Regions from separate parts of the Homo sapiens genome. Here region 1 is linked to region 2. Evidence: promoter capture Hi-C in 16 types of primary human blood cells and fetal thymus (Javierre and others, 2016). All regions are on one chromosome and are shown on one strand. Each heading gives the region's core, a stretch centred on a gene start or on the middle of the fragment in contact. The rest is flanking DNA. Distances are from core to core; before and after follow the strand shown.

What was found. The method cuts DNA at HindIII sites, captures the fragments that hold promoters and counts their contacts. A CHiCAGO score of 5 or more calls a contact.
Region 1: a contact is called between the fragment with the promoter of ZCWPW1 here and the fragment with the promoter of PDAP1 in region 2, in 1 of 17 cell types (neutrophils). The highest score is 7.6, in neutrophils.

What each region holds. Positions count from the first base shown.
Region 1 is chr7:100,427,042-100,431,750 of GRCh38, forward strand. It overlaps ZCWPW1 (zinc finger CW-type and PWWP domain containing 1), which reads right to left and starts at 1,662. Exons shown (of 18, transcript NM_001386010.1): 1 at 1,527-1,662. It overlaps MEPCE (methylphosphate capping enzyme), which reads left to right and starts at 2,790. Exons shown (of 4, transcript NM_019606.6): 1 at 2,790-4,648. The coding sequence starts at 2,978. RefSeq lists silencers at 1,140-1,189, 3,010-3,479 and enhancers at 1,350-1,579, 2,600-2,739, 3,610-3,689. The HindIII fragment of the contact is 9,299 bases long and covers 1-4,709 here.
Region 2 is chr7:99,405,566-99,409,922 of GRCh38, forward strand. PDAP1 (PDGFA associated protein 1) reads right to left here and starts at 3,032. Exons shown (of 6, transcript NM_014891.7): 1 at 2,971-3,032. The coding sequence starts at 2,983. BUD31 (BUD31 spliceosome associated protein) reads left to right here and starts at 3,404. Exons shown (of 6, transcript NM_003910.4): 1 at 3,404-3,680. It overlaps MIR12119 (microRNA 12119), which reads left to right and starts at 3,607; the gene lies at 3,607-3,699. RefSeq lists a silencer at 2,801-2,860 and an enhancer at 3,071-3,460. The HindIII fragment of the contact is 3,476 bases long and covers 1,670-4,357 here.

The DNA of each region.
Region 1 (4,709 bases), core at 412-2,911, 1.0 Mb after region 2:
TCCCTCCCTCTCTTATCCTTCCCTCCCTCTCTCTTCTCCTTCCCTCCCTCTCTCTCTTCTCCTTCCCTCCCTCCCCTTTCCTCCCCCTCCTCCCTCCCTCCTCCCTTTCCTCCCTCCCTCTCTCTCTTCTCCTTCCCTCCCTCCTTCCTTCCTCCCCCTTCCCTCCCTCCTTCCTTCCTCCCCCTTCCCTCCCTCCTTCCTTCCTCCCCCTTCCCTCCCTTGCTTTCTTCCTTCGTGTTTGTGCACAAGCTCAGCAAGCCCGATTTAAAACTTTTAACAAGAAAGAAGAGGCGGGTGGATCACCTTAAGTCAGGAGTTCGGGACCAGCCTGGCCAATACGGTGAAACCCCGTCTCTACTAAAAATACAAAAAAATCAGCCGAGCACGGTGGCGCGTGCCTGTAATCCCAGCATTTTGGGAGGCCAAGGTGGGCGGATCACCTAAGGTCAGGAGTTCGAGACCAGCCTGGCCAACATGGAGAAACCCCGTCTCTACTAAAAATACAAAATTAGCCGGGCACAGTGGCGGGCGCCTGTAGTCCCAGCTCCTCGGGAGGCTGAGGCAGGGGAATCGCTTGAACCCAGGAGGTGGGGGTTGCAGTGAGCCGAGACTGCGCCACTGCACTCCAGCCTGGGCGACAGAGCGAGACAGTCTTTAAAAAAAAAAAAAAAAAAGCCCCAATTCCAAATCCACCTGCAATCCAAAGGGAAGAAGTTTTGCAGAGAAGTTCTTCCCATTTGTGGGGCGCTCCCATTTTTCCTCTCTTCCCTCACCCCTTATTCTCTCTCAGGGATAGCGGTTCAAGTCGGTGTCCCTGAGCCACACGTCCCCCTCTCTCTTCCCCGTCCCCTCCCTTCCTTCCTCCCACCATGAGGGAATCTCCCCTCCACCCCCACTCCTGCCGAGGCCCCGTGATCCTTATTCTCACTCATATCGTTGGTGCCCGCCAGGAGACTGGGCTATTTTTTTTTTGTCTGTTTCTTGGGGGCGACAGATTCTGAGGAAAAAGGGCGAAGGGCTGGTTGTCGCCCTGAGAAAGTTTCTCCTCAGGCAACGGGTGCCAGGACTGGCAGCGCCTAGCACCTTCACCTACAACCAGAAACTAGCTGGCTACCTTCAGGAGCAAGGAGGACCTAAAGGCGATGGGCGGAACCAGCTGCCGCAGCGACTCCGCAAGCCCCTCACACCTCAACCCAGGTTTCCCGCCACCAAGAAAAGGCACGAGGACGCCCTGAGCACTAGCTCCACCCGAGGGCGGTGCGCTCGCGGGGCCGAGGCGCATGCGCAACTGGAAACAGCGTCTGCGTTTCCGCAGCTGAGGTAAATCCGCCATCTTCCACCCGAACGTCCCGGGAAAACTACAAATCCCAGAATCCTCTTTGGTGTCACATATTTTTAGGCGGCGGCCGCGGCGCCTGATTGTTCCTGAAGCACATCTACTAACTTTTCTGTTTCAGACTGCCTTTTCCTCCCTCTTTCCGTTCTCTAATTCCTCCTCTTCCTGCTGGTCTCCTTCACGCCCTCACCTTAGGATTTTGAGACTCTCCTGGACCCCACTGTCACCCCTGCCGCCCTGTCCTCGGCCCAGCACTCCGCTGGCAGGGAGACCGGGCGGCGCATCTCCCCGGGAAAACGGCGTAGACTCGCTTCTTCCTCATTGGCAGAAGCTGGGGGGGCCCAGCGCGGACCGAACCCCCGTCCCCGCCCACACTCGCTGGTATATAAGTCGGCGTGGCGCCGCGGTGGGTGTTGAGAGGCCCGCGAACTGACGGGCCAGTGAGCGGGCGTCGGGAGTGGGCGGATGCGTTGGGGTTCGGGTCGTGGGTGTTGAGGCGGAGAGGAAGGCGTGGTGTGGCGTCTCCAGGTGATTGCGATTGGGGGAAGGTAGAGGAGCCAGAGAACGACTCAGCCGTTTCGGGGGAAGAGGAAGTTGGACAACATCGGCTGTTTTAGTGCTTTTTATTTTTCCCCAATTCAGCAGAGAATATTTTCAAGGGGGGTGAGTTATAATGACCTATCGCGTTTTACTGAGCCCAGTTCCACTCCCGCCCTTCCTTGGCTTTGTAGGGTCTCCCCTCCGCTCCCTCGGAAGCGCTTCTAAGAAGGTGGGCAGAGGGGGGGAGGTTTGCTACCAACAGCTCATGAATAATTCATGAGCCCCGCCCTTCGTCAGGAAGCCCCGCCCCTCCGGATCGCGCTGACGCACGCTGCGTTTACCAAACTTAAGGAAGCGACGTCACAGGCCCAACCCCTAAGACGGGGGGCGGGGCGCCAGTTTCAGCACGTGCTGCCTCTACCCGCGCAAGCCCAAAAGGGTGTGCGCAGGCGCTGCCCACTAGGGGGGAGGAAGGAGGCGGGGTGGGGAGGTTGTTGGATTTAGAGCCGGGCGGAGACCGCTGAGACTCATTCCTCAGGAACAAGGGTCGGGTGTCAAGGAGACCTTTTCACACCAGCTCCCGTCCCCCGCCTACGGTGGGTGGGATCGCGCGGCAGAGACAAAGGAGATCAGTAGGGCCGGACATAGCTGCGCAGGGAAGTAGGGTGTCAGTTTGGGGTGGTGGGCTTTTGCGGGGGCTGTGGGGGGGTTATATTTAAACTCCCAGAGCCGTTAAGTTGGTTCGTAGTCTGATGCGCGCGCAACCAGGGTGGTGGCGGAGTGCGCATGCGTGGTTCCCGGGCGAAGGGAACGCGCGCTCACCGTGCGCGCTCGCGGCCGGGTGGTAGTGGCGGAGGAGAAAGGGGTCGGCGCACGCGCGGTTGAGTCCTCGAGTAGTTCGGGTCTCGCGGGCCTCTTGTTTTGGTCTCGCGGGCTAGTAGGGCGCACTTGGCGGGGAGGCGCTTGGGCGCGAGACTAGGCGTGAAGAGCAGAGCTGCGCGCGCACTCGGGAAAGGGGGGAAGGGAGCAGGGTCCAGGCAGGGGGGGTTAGGCCCCCTGATCCCCCTCGTTACCCCGACTGGCACGGAATAAGGGGAGGAAATGATCGAGATGGCGGCGGAGAAGGAGCCGTTTCTGGTGCCGGCCCCGCCGCCGCCGCTCAAAGATGAGTCGGGCGGAGGGGGCGGCCCCACGGTGCCACCGCACCAAGAGGCCGCCTCTGGGGAGCTCCGCGGCGGGACGGAGCGTGGTCCGGGTCGTTGCGCGCCATCTGCGGGGTCCCCAGCCGCTGCGGTCGGTCGGGAAAGCCCCGGGGCCGCGGCCACCTCCTCCAGTGGTCCCCAGGCGCAGCAGCACCGAGGGGGCGGCCCCCAGGCGCAGTCGCATGGGGAGGCCCGCCTGTCGGATCCCCCGGGGCGAGCCGCTCCCCCGGACGTGGGGGAGGAGCGCCGGGGAGGGGGCGGGACAGAGCTGGGTCCCCCTGCTCCTCCTCGACCCCGCAATGGCTATCAGCCCCACCGGCCACCTGGGGGGGGCGGGGGCAAGAGGAGAAATAGCTGTAATGTAGGGGGAGGCGGGGGAGGCTTCAAACATCCGGCCTTCAAGAGGCGCAGGCGGGTGAATTCGGACTGTGACTCTGTGTTACCCTCCAACTTCCTCCTGGGGGGCAATATCTTTGATCCCCTGAACCTGAATAGCCTCCTGGATGAGGAAGTGAGCCGCACTCTCAACGCGGAGACCCCTAAGTCATCCCCCCTTCCGGCCAAAGGGCGAGATCCGGTGGAGATCCTCATCCCCAAAGATATTACTGACCCGCTCAGTCTCAATACTTGCACTGATGAGGGCCATGTAGTTCTTGCTTCGCCACTCAAGACTGGTCGGAAGCGGCATAGACACCGGGGACAGCACCACCAGCAGCAGCAGGCAGCCGGAGGGAGTGAGAGTCACCCCGTGCCGCCCACAGCCCCTCTCACCCCCTTACTCCACGGGGAGGGCGCCTCACAGCAGCCGCGGCACAGGGGCCAGAACCGGGATGCCCCCCAACCCTATGAACTCAACACAGCCATCAACTGCAGGGATGAAGTGGTGTCTCCCCTTCCATCTGCTCTGCAGGGTCCCTCAGGCTCCCTATCAGCCCCTCCAGCTGCCTCAGTTATCTCTGCACCCCCATCTTCCTCCTCCCGACATCGCAAACGTCGCAGGACTTCCAGCAAGTCGGAGGCAGGGGCTAGGGGTGGAGGCCAGGGTTCCAAGGAAAAGGGCCGAGGGAGTTGGGGAGGCCGCCACCACCACCACCACCCACTGCCTGCAGCAGGCTTCAAAAAGCAACAGCGCAAGTTCCAGTATGGGAATTATTGCAAATACTATGGGTACCGCAATCCTTCCTGTGAGGATGGGCGCCTTCGGGTGTTGAAGCCTGAGTGGTTTCGGGGCCGGGACGTCCTAGATCTGGGCTGCAATGTGGGCCATCTGACCCTGAGCATTGCCTGCAAGTGGGGCCCGTCCCGCATGGTGGGCCTGGATATCGATTCCCGGCTCATCCATTCTGCCCGCCAAAACATCCGACACTACCTTTCCGAGGAGCTGCGTCTCCCACCCCAGACTTTGGAAGGGGACCCGGGGGCAGAGGGTGAGGAAGGGACCACCACCGTTCGAAAGAGGAGCTGCTTCCCAGCCTCGCTGACTGCCAGCCGGGGTCCCATCGCTGCCCCCCAAGTGCCCTTGGATGGAGCGGACACATCAGTCTTCCCCAACAATGTTGTCTTCGTCACGGTAAGAGGGTCCAGAGGCTCTTGGAATAGGGGCCAGGTGTGAAGATGAGATTAAATGGGAA
Region 2 (4,357 bases), core at 1,782-4,281:
GTTGGCTAGAATGGTCTTGATCTCTTGACCTCGTGATCTGCCCACCTCAGCCTCCCAAAGTGCTGGGATTACAGGTGTGAGCCACCGCGCCCAGCCAGCCAGGGGCACAGTTGATCCTCGGAACAAACCTATGGTACAGGGGTGATAGCTGGTCCCATTTCATAGACCAGGAGACTTAGACCAAAGCAGACTGCGAAACACCACGAAGTTTAGAGTCCAACTCCCAGGTTCTACGCTTACTGGCTTGATGACTTTGGGCAGGTATTTAACCTCTCAGTCTCAGTTTCCTCATCTGTGTCCCTACCTTACAGGGTTGTCACAAAGATAGATGAATTAATCAATATACAGAAAGCTGCTGGAACAGTGCCTGCTACTGAATAAGCACTACAAAAATGTTCGCTAATATCCAGGCACAGTGGCTGATGCCTGTAATCCCAGCACTTTGGGAGGCCAAGGCGGGCAGATCACTTGAGGCCAGTTCAAGACCAGCCTGGTCAACATGGTGAAACCCCCTCACTACTAAAAATACAAAAATTAGCTGGGCATGGTGTCACATGTTTGTAATCCCAGCTACTTGGGAGGCTGAGAAAGGAGAATCGCTTGAACCCAGGAGGCAGAGGTTGCAGTAGCCGAGATTGAGCCACTGCACTCCAGCCTGGGCCACAGAGCGAGACTCCGTCTCAAAAAAATAAAAAAATCGCTGTTCGTTACTTTTCCCTCTAATCTAGTATTTGGTGGAAAAACAACAACAAAAGCACCACTGAGCACATAAGCAATTTACTGCAGATGTTGGAAACACAATAAAATACCTTGTGTTCACCTTAGTAGTATGGCAAAAAGAGAATACTTAAGGGAAAAAAAAGAAACCCAAACCTACAGGCAAAAACTTTGTGCTTAGACTAAGAAATGACTGGCAAAGTACAGATGAAAACAAACCTGACTACACAGTCTAAAAGTTAAAAATGTGACTAGCAGTTAAAGTGTCAGTTTTATAGTCTGACCCTCTTCAGCCAGAACACCAGGCTGACCCTTGCTTAAGCCATCAGCCAGTTTTAAAGCAAGGTGGCATCCCCCTCTGCTGGTCCCCAAGTATGCAAGGGTGGCTGTGGCCTCAACTTCCACACAGGAAGCTGAGGCCCACCTGATTTCCATAGTCTGTCTCTGTGAGCAGAGACTCTGTAATCAGCCAGAGTTGCTCTGCACTCCAGAGGCGGTAGCAGAGATACTGGCCTCCTCTGATTCCTTACAGCAGCTGCAAAGCCATAATTGGGCTGCTAAAGATCACACCACCCATTTTTAATGACTACCTAGGTTCCCAGGGGTGTCTAAGTCTATGCTTATTAAAGTCCTATTGTGAGAGAGCAAGTGTGCCAAGAAAAAAACCAACACCCTTTCTTGCTCTCTTAATACACCAGGCAACAGTAACAACTCAAAATTGATTACTATAGGCTCTCCTCTCATGCACTTGGCTATGGGACCCTGACCTTAGCTTGGTCCACAGTAATTTTATAGTAGACTCTTCAAGACTTTAAAAAACGATTTGCACTTAACATAATGGAAACAAGCGTTGGTCCTTTGCTCTTAGGGAGTTTGATACTTTTAACACCTTCACGGTTTTTTGTGGTTTTCAGATTAACCCAAGAAAATGTAAACCTTGTCTACCCCAAAAAGCTTTTCACAAGCCCAAAGACCATTTAGCTATGAATTCATATTTAAGGTTTTATCGTTGTAACCTCCAACCTTTACCCAAAGTATCCATTAAGTAAAACTTCGGAGGGAGGATGGCTCATTCAGCAACCTCCTTTTACAGATGAAGGGACTGGGGAACAATAGCAGAGAGACTTTTCCAGCCACAGAATAAATCAGTAGAGAGCTAGGTTTAAACACATTTAGCTCTGTAATGCCCAATTATCTCTGGAGTCAGGAAGCGATTTAGGTTTGAAAACGCTACAGGCAGATGTTTCTGTGGGTTGAGTGCATTAACCAATATAACACATGAGCTACCAACACAAATATATTTGTTCTGTGCCAGGAGGTGGCCAGGCACTTTATGAGCGCTATAATTTTACCACCCCGGCCCCAATTCAACAAGCTAAGGATTAGCCCAGTGTTTCAGATGAGGAAGAGGTTAACTTGTTCAGGGCCACAGAATTAGACGTGACATAGCTGGGATTCAAACTGGGGACTATCGATTCTAAAGGGGGAAACAGGATAGAGAACGGGCTAGAAGATAGAGGACGGGCTACAATGGACTGGGCAGTCATGAACCTACTTACAAGATCAAGAGCTGGCAAAGCCTTAAAAATAAGAATAGTTACTGCTTCACTGGGCACTTTTAACGACTGCCTGGCACTGTACTGCGCACTCCACGTGGATTACCTAGTTGAAGCCTCCCAACAGTACTAAGAGGTAGGTACAATCGTTATTCCCATTGGCAAATGAGAAAACGGAGACACAGGAGGTGGAGCGACTGGCTCAAAGGAACACACCGAGCCGCTACCGAACGGGGGAGTCGAAACCAGGTCTGGAAGGCTCATGGGCATCTCCTTAAGTCCTCCTAGGCAGGCCTGGCTGAACCGAAGCCAGAAAAAGCCCACGTTTTACGCGAGAGGCAGGCGGGCCCGGCACAAGCGCGGGACGCGGTGACTCAGTTCCTAGCCAGCCAAAGAGTGGGATAAATTCCAGAACCCCTAGACCCGGAGAAGCGCATCCTAGATCCGGCTTTCTAGGCCGGCGAGGACCCAGAGCTTCCGAAACTCCTCAGACCACTGACGGAGTGACTCTGGGACACCACAGTCCTCAGTTTCCCCATCGGGACAATTGGGCGTCGAGGCCCAGGCCTGGCTCTCAGCCGGTGCGGACAGCCTCCCTCTGCGCTGCTCTCAGAGACGCGCACGGGCTGAGGGGACAGCGGAAGCCGGACCTGGGCCGCCCCTCCAGGCCTGCGGGCCACCGGCGCCCGCCCCTCACCTCCTTTAGGCATTGCGGCTCCGGCGGCTGCGGCGGCGGCGGCGGCGCCTCGAACTGACACCGGAACCGGAAATAGCTTGGGCTCGACTTCTTCCTCCTGGGCCAGCCGCCGCCGCCGCTTCAGTGGCCGCAGTGGCCGCAAGGACCCGGACCTCAGGGAGGCCTCCGCACGAAGTCGGACCGTCCTGCGCGCCGCCTAAGTCCAGGCTTGCCCGTCTGCTGCCAGGCAACAACGCCCCTAGTCTCTCCGTTCGGGAAGACGCGTGGCCCTGCCTGCCACCCACCGGAAGTGAGGGCAAATGGCAACAGCGGCTCTGGAATTCTATACAGGCATTGCTGAGGACACCTAAGATGACGCAATCTCCGCGCGGGTAGGGCGGGGCTCCGCAAGGACCTCATGCCTTAGAGATCGCCTGAAGAGCGGAAGCCTTCTGTCGAGAAGCAGCTACCCAAGCTCCAGGAGCTTCCGGTATGTGTTTTCCCTCTGTTCTCGATTACCTTGGCAACGGCTGAGGCGGGAGACCGGTGGTCTGCACCGTCCTGGAGGGAGATATGAGTGGCTGGACTCTCAGCCAGCCACTGGGATGTGTTCGGGCTTTGGACCTTGAGGCCGGAGAGAGCTCCCGAGAGGAGGCGGCGCCACGTTCGTTCTTCTGAGGGGACGGTAGATTTGGGGGTTTTCCTCTAGGATTCTCGCGCCGTTTCCTCTGGTAGGAACGTCTTCTGTGTTCTGATTGTTTTTCTAAGCTGGGTTCAGATGCTGTCCTTTTTATGAGTTTTCCCTACAATCCTGCACTATCTTCCTTCGCTCCTCCTCGCCTCCTTCCCCTAGCGCCCCAATCTCTCTTACACCTCCCGGCACATCTTTCTTCTCGATCTGATTACCTCCTACGTCCTCTTTCTCCTCGATCTGGTTACCGCCTACCATTTTCACCTCCGAGAGGCCTCTTCTGACTTCCAGGCTGGATCAGGGCCCTCGAATTTCCCTGGGTCGTAGAAAAGCGATCATTCTCTTGTCACAGACTATGCGCCTTGGGGCCGAGACCAGAATTCACCTATTTTTAGCTTCAGCGTAGGGGAGACTAGTGCGAAGACCACTGATTTGGGAGTCAGGAGCCCTCCAGAGTCAGGTTTTGCAAATTCTCAGCTGTGTGACCCTGATTCTACCTTATAGAGTTTGATTCCTCCTCTATATGGTTGTTTTAGAGAGTTCATGAGAGGAGGCTCTGTGGGCGGGGGGGGGGTGGGTCTTTGTAAAGTGTCAGTACAGAAGGGAGTGACTGAATGAATTTGAGAGAGATGAATCTGTTATGCTGAAAGGTAAATACTTAACCTGGGTTCTCTCTGGCAGCAAGGAAATGCTGTGTGGTTTGAAAAACGCTTTGCT